Linked DNA regions of Homo sapiens: region 2 is linked to region 1. The links are contacts of gene promoters, found by promoter capture Hi-C in human tissues and cell types (Jung and others, 2019). All regions are on one chromosome and are shown on one strand. The core of a region is centred on a gene start or on the middle of the fragment in contact, and the rest is flanking DNA. Distances in the headings are between cores, read along the strand shown.

Region 1 (4,882 bases), core at 1,539-4,038:
CAGCAAAGTCAGACCTAGACCTCACTCCTCGGCCGAGAAAATTCCATGAAGCGCTGTGCTATGAGAAGACCCGAGGCCCCTCCCAGAGACCAAGGTGGGGGGAAGAAGCCGACAGGCCCAGCCTGGCCAGAGCTGGGGTTTACAGGGCGCTGGGGGACCACACAGACCCTGTTCCTCCCCGGGCCAGCCAAGCACTCTGAGGCTGGCGGGCGTCAGCCAGCCTGACCGAGGCCCCGGCAGGACTCCACCCTGTCAGTCTGGCCCTGAAGCTGGGGCTGCTGAGTGCCGTGTGGGCAGCAGCTCGGTGTGGGAAGAGGAGCCCGCATTGGACTGAGTCTTGCTGAAAACACCACCTCTCGGGGTCCCTGCCAAGCAAAGCTGTCAGCCCCTCAGCACTCAAGGTGGCTAAGCAGGTCCCTCGTGCACCAAAAACAGGGGCGGCCGGGGCCTTGGGAGCTTTTTCAGGGAACCCGGGGAAGGCCCGGTTCTCTCGAGGGCGCCTGCCCCCCTCCACCATCATGCACCCTTCTCAGCCAGAAACCCCACAGCTGCCTCCCATACAGGGACCCTCAGATATGCGGGGGGCCTGGAGCCCACCTGTGTGGTCGCCATGGTGGTGCCCATCTCCAAGCCCTGCTTCAGCCTTGTACACGGCACCGCCGCCAGGGTGGGGTCCCAGCTCCGCGCCCGAGTCGGAGTCGCTGTGGCCGGCTTTGGCGCTCTTCCTGCGCCGTGGCTGGTACTTGTAGTCGGGGTGGTCCTTCTTGTGCTGCACGCGAAGGCGCTCTGCCTCCTCCACGAAGGGCCGCTTCTCGCTCTCGCTCAGCAAGCTGCAGCACAGGGCAGAGGCAGGGATGGCCAGGGCGCCCACTGTGCCCTCGGCGCAGGCACACACCACAGGGGGAACCGGCAGCAGAGGCCGGGGCCAGGAGGCTCTGACCAGGGAAACCCGCCTGCCGTGCGCTCCGGAGCCTCCCGTGGCACCAGGCAGTACACTCCTCTGGGAGAACCGGCCGGCGCCTGTTTGGGAAGGTTGGTATGCTTACGACAGCCAAAGAAGAACAAGCCCCACGCCTCCCATCTTCCTCCTTCTATTTCCCCCTATTCCGGGCCTGCTGTTCCCTCCCTCTGGGGCTTTCTAAGGGAGGCGGGGGAGGCGGGCAGGACCCAGCCGGCGGTGGACAAAAGCGAGGCTTCCCGGGAACGGTGCCGGCCTTCGGCGGGCAGCTGGGCTGCTGTCCCTCCATTCCCAGACACCCAGAAGCCCTGGCAGGGCCCAGGCGCCCGTCCTCACTGAGCCACAGGACACACTCCTTGGGACTCTTCCCGAGGCTCACCTCCAACCGCCTGTGCGGCAGGACTTGGGGGAGCAGGGGCCTGCCGTCCACAGCGCCCCGTGGCTGCGCCCTAGATCCAGACAGAAGGCAGGAGGTGCAAATACGCAAGCTCCAAGCTCCCTTCTTCCAGGTGAGGAGCAGGATACGGGAACCAGAGCCCCAAACCAAGAGAACCATTTGAAACCCAACCAGAGGACACTCGGTGGGGGCGGCCTGTCCTGAGCAACAAGTTCTTCACTCTGCAGTCCTAATTTCTGGAAAACTGACCGGCCCCACCACGCCAAGGCGTGCACACGGCGCACCCCGTCATCTCCACTCCTGCCCTCCCTGCTTCGGACCGAGGGTGTCCAGGAGAGGGAGAAACTGCGGGGAGGGTACTCGCAGGCAAACCTGCTGCCCACCCATCCGCCTGCCGCACTCCCTCCCCATGGGTGGTCCAGGAGCTAGAGGAGCTGAGCCCTTTCTAAGGAGGGAGCACCTCCAGAGAGCCGCATGCAACTTGCTGTCGTGCCGGGCGTGCCTCCCGGGGCTGGGGCCACTCGCAACGGCTGGAGGGCACGTCGGGGTGCCAGCCATGGCCCTCCGCAGGGTGTTCCCCGCCAGGAGAACTGGCTCCAGAGCGCACCCGCCACGAGGGTGCACACCCCAGGCGCTGCCCTCCGCGGATCCCGACTCCCATAGCTGGCGCCGGACCCCGGCTGGCCAGAGGATGTTTTTCCACTGGGACCCGCCCTGACACCCGCCCGGGGTGCAGAGCCCGGAGCCTGCGTGTGGCCACCACCTCCGCGAGCTCTGCGCCCTCCAGGCCCCCGCTCGCAGTCCGAGACCAGGGGCGGCCAAGGTCCCGAACCCCGCCCCCGGGGCGCCGGCACTCACCGCCACAGCTTGCCCAGCGTCTTGCTGAGCTCGGCGTTGTGCAGGTGCGGGTACTGGTCGGCCAGCTTGCGGCGCGCCGCCTGCGCCCACACCATGAATGCGTTCATGGGCCGCTTCACATGCGGCTTGGCTTTGAGCGCGCCGCCGCCGCCGCCGCGCACCGGCATGGGCACCAGACTCCAGTCGTAGCCCTTGAGCACCTGCGACACGGCGTCGCGGATGCAGGCCGGGAAGCGCTCGTCCGCCGCCTCCGCCGGGTCGCCCCGGGCGCCCCCCACCGCGACCCCCGCGCGGCCCAGGCCCTCGGAGCCGGCGGGAGACGGCGGCGCGTCCGAGTCCGAGTCCTCCACGTGCGACATGGAGCTGGCGGTGCCGGACGGGCTGCAGGGCGGCTGGGAGCGGGCCTCGCTCATGTCCAGCATCGGGGCCGCGCGCGGAGGGGCGCGCACAGGAGACGCGCACCGGGGCCGGCGCCCGGGGCTGCCCTGCGGTCGCTCCGGGACCCGAGGTCGCCGCGCGGTGGCCCCGACCCTCGCCCCTGCCGCCGCCGCCGCCGCCGCCGAGGCTCGGGTCCCGCTGCGGGACCCGCAACAAGTTTCTTTAAGCGGCGGCCCCGCGGCCCCGCCCCGCGCCCGGCTACCCATTGGCGGAGCGCGCCCCGATCCCCCGGAGGCGGAGCCCGGCCGCCCCCGCCCCCCCACCCATAAAGAAAGCTCCGCGGCTCTCGCCGCGCCCCCGCCTGCCCCGCCCGGCGCCGCACCACGTGGGCCAGGCGCCCCACGCCTGGAGCTCCCCTCTCTGGAGCCCCGGGAAAGGAAGCGGGGCAGGGAGGCCGGGTGGGAGCAGGGGGGTCTCCGGCGCTTCCTCTCCTCTGCGGGCGCCGCGCGGCTCCTGAGAGTCCGCCCCCCGTCCTGACGCTCAGCTAGGAAGCGGGTCCTCGGGCCCCTCCCCCGACACACACACACACACACACACACACACACACACACACACACACTCTCTCTCTCTCTCTCTCTCTCTCTCTCTCTCTCTCTCTCTCTCACACACACACACACACACACAGCCCGTCTCGCGCCTGAGGTCTCGCCCGCAGGCCGGTGGCGCGGGGTCAGCTGCTGCCTGCGGTCCAGGACAGGGTCGGTTCCGCCGCGCAGCGCCCAGGCCCAGCTCGTCCAGAGTCTGCGGACAGCGCACGTCCAGGTAACGCGCTTCAAGGGGCCGCGGCTCGGAGCTGGGGGACCCCGGGCCGCCCTGCCCATACGAGTGCGAGCGTGGAGAGCGCGGGCGGGGGCGCGGTCCCGGGGGCCGGCCAGCTGGAGGGGGCGGGAGCGCTGGGCGGGGCCTGCGCTGACCCCGGCGCTGAGTCCCTGGGGCCGCCGGGCGGATGGCGTGGCCGGACGCGGGGGCCCCGGGCCTTCCGGGCGTGACCTAGGGCTCGGGGGCGGGGAGGCCCCTCCGGCGGGGCGGCCCTGGGTGGTCCGGCAGAGGCGGAGGCCGCTCCGAGCCTGTGAGCCCTGGGCGCCTGCGGAGGCGGGGAGAGGGCGGGGTGTGCCGCCCTGGTGGGGACCGCGGGGTCGGAGAGGGGACATTGCCCCCCCCGAGGCGAACGTCCAACCGCGGGTCCGGGTCCCCGCCCAAGGCCGCCCCGCGAGGTGGCCTCGGCCCGGCCGTCCCCGAGGGTGGCTCGGATCCTTTCAACCAGCGCGCTGGAGGCGAAGGGGCTGCGCCATTCCGGGTCAGGCAGCCAACGCGGGACACGCGCGTCTCCGAGCTTGCGGCCCGCGAAACCCGGGTGACCTACCGCGCCGGTGCCCTCAAAGCCCCCACGCCCGGGCCGGTGGCCGCTGCAGCCACTGAGCCACGCGGTCTCCCCGGCCCGGTCGGCAGAAGGAGCTGGTCCGTTACTAGAAAAGTCCAGATGCAAAGTCGGGGGTCGTGCTGCCGCTTCCTGCCAGCGCACCGCACCCACCTGGGGCCGCCACCGACCGCACAGGACGCGCCTCCTACCCCCTGTTCTGGCCCGGCCGAGAGCTGGTGCCCCCAGCGGCCGCCCGCCCCCGTCCGCAGACCCCGGGGCCCTTGCTGCTTTGCATTGGGAACAACCGGAGCCAGGCCCGGAGCTGAGGGGGCCAGGGCCTTTGGAGGAAGCATTGGCCTCCAGGCTGAAGAGCAAGGGCCGTGTCACCTGCCCGGAGGGCGGTCTCATCTCTGCAGCCAGGTCAGAGGAAGCAGCGGTGGGGAGACGGAGTGCGCGAGTTGGGAGGCTCCACGCATCGTAGGTGGAGAGCTGGCTGCCAGCCTGGCCTGCCCTCTCTTCCCCGTCCCACCATCTCGCTTGGCTCCGGCACCTGCCTGGGAAGACCCACACCTCCGTCTGCAGTGCCTCTTCCCCCTGGAGGCCCTGCCCTCCGCTCGGGGTCCCCGCATCCTTCCGTGGCCCTCAGAGCATCGCCTGGGGCGCCCGCGGAACTCATCTGTTAGGCCTGGGATGCAGGCAGGCAGAAGTGGGGGTTTAAGTGGAAGCAGTGAGGGTGGGGGTCCGGTCCAAACTGTGCCACCTTCCACCCCCTGCCCCTGGGAGAGCAGACATCGCCCACTCGGGCTCACAGTGCCATCCGGGTGAGGACCTCCGTGGAGAGCTCTCTTTGCCAAAGAAAAGCAGTTGCATT
Region 2 (4,882 bases), core at 1,240-3,739, 720 kb before region 1:
CTCAGACTAAAGGTGATAGCTTTGCAAACCACACGCACACCCGCCAGCTTGGTTCAGCAGGAGCCCTGGGGGAGGGCAGATGCACTCACAGCAGCTTGCATGTGAACCGCACAGAGCTGGGCAGCGCCTATCCTGTGCACAGCTCATTTTTAAGCGGCAAGGTTATAATTCCTAGCCTTAACGTTGTCCATCTTGATTTTCTCCTTTCAGTTCCTTCTCGTCCACTATACTGACCACACAGGTACAAGGTGAAAAAAAGAAACCCACCTGAAATCCAGGTCAGGCCACTGAGTGTGGGAGAGCAGTGGAGGGCGGTGCCCAGCACAGGGGGCAGCCACAGCTCCACAGCTGAGCGAGGGCAGCCCTGGCACTCCAGGCTTCTGGGGAGCAGCCCTCCGGTGCCTGCAGCTGCCTGACATGGAAGCAAGTGCCCAGGCCGGTGTCGGGTTCACTCTGCATCCTGGCTGGGCACTTCTGGGGTGGGTGACCTTGGTTCAGCCCCTCCACTTCTCAGGACAAGTTTCCTTCCCAGTAAAATGCCTATAGTCACCCTGAGCTCCAAAATCCATGAACCTTTGCGTTCCCTTAGGTTGAGAGCTTTAACTCAGCTTTGCTGGAACCGGGGCATTCCAATCAATGCATAACCACCTCGCGACAGACACGAAGCCCAAACGCAATAGAAACCACAGGAAAGGAGGAATGATACAACATACTGTTATGATTTTTATAAACACGCTTTAAACCAAACTAGGCCATAAATCACCTTGGTTTCAGAAAAAGCCAAAATACTGACACAATCTTTTATTTTCCTATTAAAGTCAAGAATGTGTTAAGCCGAATTAATTGAAAAGGAATTGAAGCTCATTTCCTAAGACACTTCTATTCATAAGTCAAACAGCATTACCTAACTCCTAGAATGAGAGAATTTCTGGGCTTGGAGATCGCCTAGTGCAATTCACTCCTTTGATGGAAAATCGAACCCCAGGCAGGCGACAGGCCAAGGTCACAGAGGCAAAGCAGGGATGGGAACCAGCCTCCCTGAACCTGTTTCTGACAAAGGGCGAGGTTCTGGGCCCACACACAGGCAGGCCGAGCTCAGTATCTGACGGTGAATGAATGAAGCTAAGTGGTGCTCCCCACAGGGCCCGGCTCTTGTAACTGCTTCACAGACAAGCGATTTCCAGGTTATGGAGACATCCTAGCACAGAATTAAACGCTTCAAACTCAGACTGTTAACTCCTCAGAAGCCAGAGTGGAGTTTCTCAGCCCTGGCTACATCAGCTAACAATCTCGCCAAGCAAGGAACCAAGGGGGCAAAGACATCACCTCCAGAAACTCGAGTGTTCCTTCTGCTGACAGAGGAGCAGCCCGCCTGCGGCCTTGTTCTGTGTTTACATCAACCACCCAATTCACCCGTGTCACAGACCTTCAAAATACGGGATTAGGGACAAGGGAAAGGTCTCCAACATCATCCACAGACGGCTGCAGCCCCCTAAGAACACCAAAAGATTCCTTTTCTAGATGGGTTTAGAATGGCAGCCAACAGAGGTAGCACTTGGGGTCGGGAAACGGTTTTGACTGAACACACGCACGAAAGCAAAGGCAATTGTCATGCAGAGGTGGGTGGGGAGGGGAGAGTGAGGCCTGGCTTTGAAGCTGAGCTCCCCGGGGATGACGCCAGGCACATCGGGTTTGGGGCTGAAGATTCAGGGCTGGGGGCACGGAGGAGGGGGCCAGGGCCCAGGCCTGGGCGGAAAAGGGGGTCCCCGGGAGTCGGGGTGGGGTCCCGGGGCAGGCGGGGGAGTGCTCTAGGGAGGTGTCTCACGGCGGGCAGAGGGGGTGGGGAAGTCCCGGGGCGGGGGATATGGGGTCCAGGCGGGTCTCGGGGCGGGGTCTGGGGGTCCAGGGGTCCCGCGGTCCGGGGTGCCGGAGCGGGGTCTGGGGTCGGGACGGGTGTTGGGTCCGGGGCCCGGGGCTGGCTGGGGGTCCGGGACGGGGATGCGGGCGGGTCCCGCGGCCCACGCACCTCCTCCGCCTGCCTGCGCAGCGCCTTCTCACGCTCGTACTGGGTGAGCAGCTGCTCGTTGTCCTCGCGCAGCAGCTCCAGCTCCACCTCGTGCTCCTGGTTCTCGCTGAGCACCGAGTCTAGGTTCTCCAGCACGTTCACCACCAGCGGCATGAGCTCCTTGACCACCTCCTCGTCGTAGCAGTGGATGAGGCGCTCGAACTCGCGGTAGATGGAGCCCGCCAGGCCCGACACCCGCTCCGACATCACCGAGCCGGAGCAGTAGTCGTCCTGGTACACCACCACGCCGCCGCCCTCGTCCATCTGGATCTCCATCATCGCGGCCACCGCCGCCGCCAGCGCGGCTCGCTATCCGGCCGGCGCGCCCGGCCCTCCCCAGCTGCCTCAGGTTCCGCAGGCCGCAGCCCGTCGCCTCCCGCAGCTGCTGTCGCCTCAGGGCTCCGCCGCCGCCGCTGCCGAGGCTGCGCCCGTCACTCACTCACCGGAAGTCCCGCCCTCCAGCCGGAGGGGGCGGTGCCCGCGCGTCCCGCCGCAGCCGCGCCGCCAGGGGGCGCAGGGGCCGTGACGTCAGAGGAAGCCGGGCTTCGGGCCGGAAGCGCGGGTGAGCCGGGCAGAGGGAGCTCCCGGCCAGGCCGGTGGGATCCGCGGGGCGGCAGTGGTCGCTTCCCCCAGCGCGCTGTAGCTTGATCATGTCCCCGCAACCGTGGGCTTCCGGTGACCTCGATCCCGTCTCCAGGCTCTGCACACTTCGGCGGACTTAGGTGAAGGCTCAGCGCCTGCGCCTCAATCCCGGCCGCCCTGATGAGCCTCCGTTCCCTACAGCACCGCGCCCCGCTCAGTGCCTCCCCTCTCCTGATGCCTTCCCCGCTCAGCTGGCTCCTCCCGGGATTCTGTGAATGCACCCTCAACGCCCATCTCATCCTGAAACCCAGCAGCGTGGCCTCCTTCCTTTCGCCCACTTCTCCCTACTGCACTGACTGCTTCAGATTTTCTTTTTTTTTTTTTTTTTTGAGATGGAGTCTTGCTCTGTCGCCCAGGCTGGAGTGCGGTGGCGCGATCCTGGCTCACTGCAAGCTCCGCCTTCTGGGTTCAAGTGATTCTTCTCCCTCAGCCTCCGGAGTAGCTGGGATTACAGACCAGCTAATTTTGTATTTTTAGTAGAGACGGGGTTTCGCCATGTTGGCCAGGCTGGTCTCAAATTTCTGATCTCAAGTGATCCGCCCGCCTCGACCTCCCAGAGTGCTGGGATGACAGGCGTGAGCCACCGCGCCAGTCCAGATTTTCGGTTACTTTTCAGCTACGTGCAATCTGTTTAACCCATCCACTGGGTTATTAATTGCACCGATTTTTTTTTTTTTGAGACGGTGTTTCGCTCTTGTCGCCCAGGCTGGAGTGTGATGGCGCGATCTCGGCTCACTGCAACCTTCGCCTCCTGGGTCCAAGCGATTCTCCTGCCTCAGCCTCCTGAGTAGCTGGGACTACAGACACGCGCTATTAACGCCCGGCTCATTTTTTTGTATTTTTAGTAGAGACGGGGTTTCACCATGTTGGCCAGGCTGGTCTTGAACTGCTGACCTCAAGTGATCCACCCGCCTCCCTCGGCGTCCCAAAGTGCTGGGATTACAGGCGTGAGCCACTGCACCCTGCCAATGATTCTGTTTTTGTCCTATTTGATTTCTTATATTCTAGCAGTTTTAATAGGCTCTTATACTTCCAACCACATATTTATCTTTAAGCGTTGGGTGTGCCTCATAACTACAGTATCTGCAGCCCTTGCAGGTCTGATTCTGCATGTCATCCTGGTTGACTCTTGGCCCAGGGTCCCCTTTCCCCCATTCTGAGCCAGTGTCCCCAGGACTTTTGTCTCTGGAAGTACTTGAGGCCTGAACTTAAAATGTGTTGCTCCGTAAGATTTGCACTTTATTTTGCTGGGCAGGGGACACCATGAACCCAAGACTTTGAAACTCAATTTGGGAGCCACACATGTATTGTGAATCCTGATGAAACCACATCAGTGACTATTTAATGCTAATAGAAATGGCCACTTACCGTCTTTCACCTACTGCAATGCTCATCAGTTCAGATCCTCTCATCCTAATCTGATTGCACCGAAACAGTAACTCCCGTAGCTGACACCCTACTGATTTTTTTTGTTGTTCAGTTTTTAGAGGCAGGGTCTCACCCTGTTGCTCAGGCTGGAGGCACTGGCATGATCAGGGCTCACTTGAACTCTTAGGCTCAAGTGATCCCACCTCAGCCTCCTAAGTAGTTGGGTCTACAGGTGTAAGCCACCACTGCTTGGCCAATTTTAAAAACATTTTTGTAGAGACAGAGGTCTCACTGTTACTCTGGCTGGTCTTGAACTCCTGGCCTCAAGCGATCCTCCCCCTTGGCCTCCCAAAGTGCTTAGATGACAGGTGTGAGCCACCATGCCAGGCTCTATTGTGTTTTTCACATTTTCCACTTGCAACATAATTTGCCGTATACATGTTCAACCATCCCACTAAGAGGTTTCATTCAGCCTCAGATTCCAATTTCCTGGGATCCCAAGTGACTTAATTTTGCCAAATCTCCATTTCTTTTCTTTTCTTTTTTTTTTTTTCCTGAGATGGAGTCTCAGTCTGTGGCCCAGGCTGGAGTGCAGTGGCACCATCTCAGCTCACTGTTACTTCCGCCCCCCGTGTTCAAGCCATTCTCCTGCCTCAGCCTCCCGAGTAGCTGGGACTACAGGCATGTGCTACCACGCCTGGCTAATTTTTGTAATTTTTAGTAGAGATGGGGGTTTCACCATACTGGTCAGGCCGGTCTCAAACTCCTGACCTCAGGTGATCCACCCACCTCAGCCTCCCAGTGTTG

The links. Contacts are between HindIII fragments. The study calls those that stand out against the background at their distance.
Region 2: a contact is called between the fragment with the promoter of MAPK8IP3 here and the fragment with the promoter of SOX8 in region 1, in 1 of the 25 tissues and cell types used here (liver).

The regions. Positions count from the first base shown.
Region 1 is chr16:979,676-984,557 of GRCh38, reverse strand. It overlaps SOX8 (SRY-box transcription factor 8), which reads right to left and starts at 2,788. Exons shown (of 3, transcript NM_014587.5): 1 at 2,214-2,788; 2 at 598-830. The coding sequence starts at 2,635. CEROX1 (cytoplasmic endogenous regulator of oxidative phosphorylation 1) reads left to right here and starts at 2,945. Exons shown (of 3, transcript NR_164343.1): 1 at 2,945-4,882. It also overlaps a transcript of LMF1 not described here. The HindIII fragment of the contact is 8,118 bases long and covers 1-4,882 here.
Region 2 is chr16:1,703,802-1,708,683 of GRCh38, reverse strand. MAPK8IP3 (mitogen-activated protein kinase 8 interacting protein 3) reads right to left here and starts at 2,489. Exons shown (of 32, transcript NM_001318852.2): 1 at 2,027-2,489. The coding sequence starts at 2,344. RefSeq lists silencers at 1,946-1,995, 2,016-2,125, 2,396-2,735, 3,642-3,936 and an enhancer at 2,294-3,158. The HindIII fragment of the contact is 16,634 bases long and covers 1-4,882 here.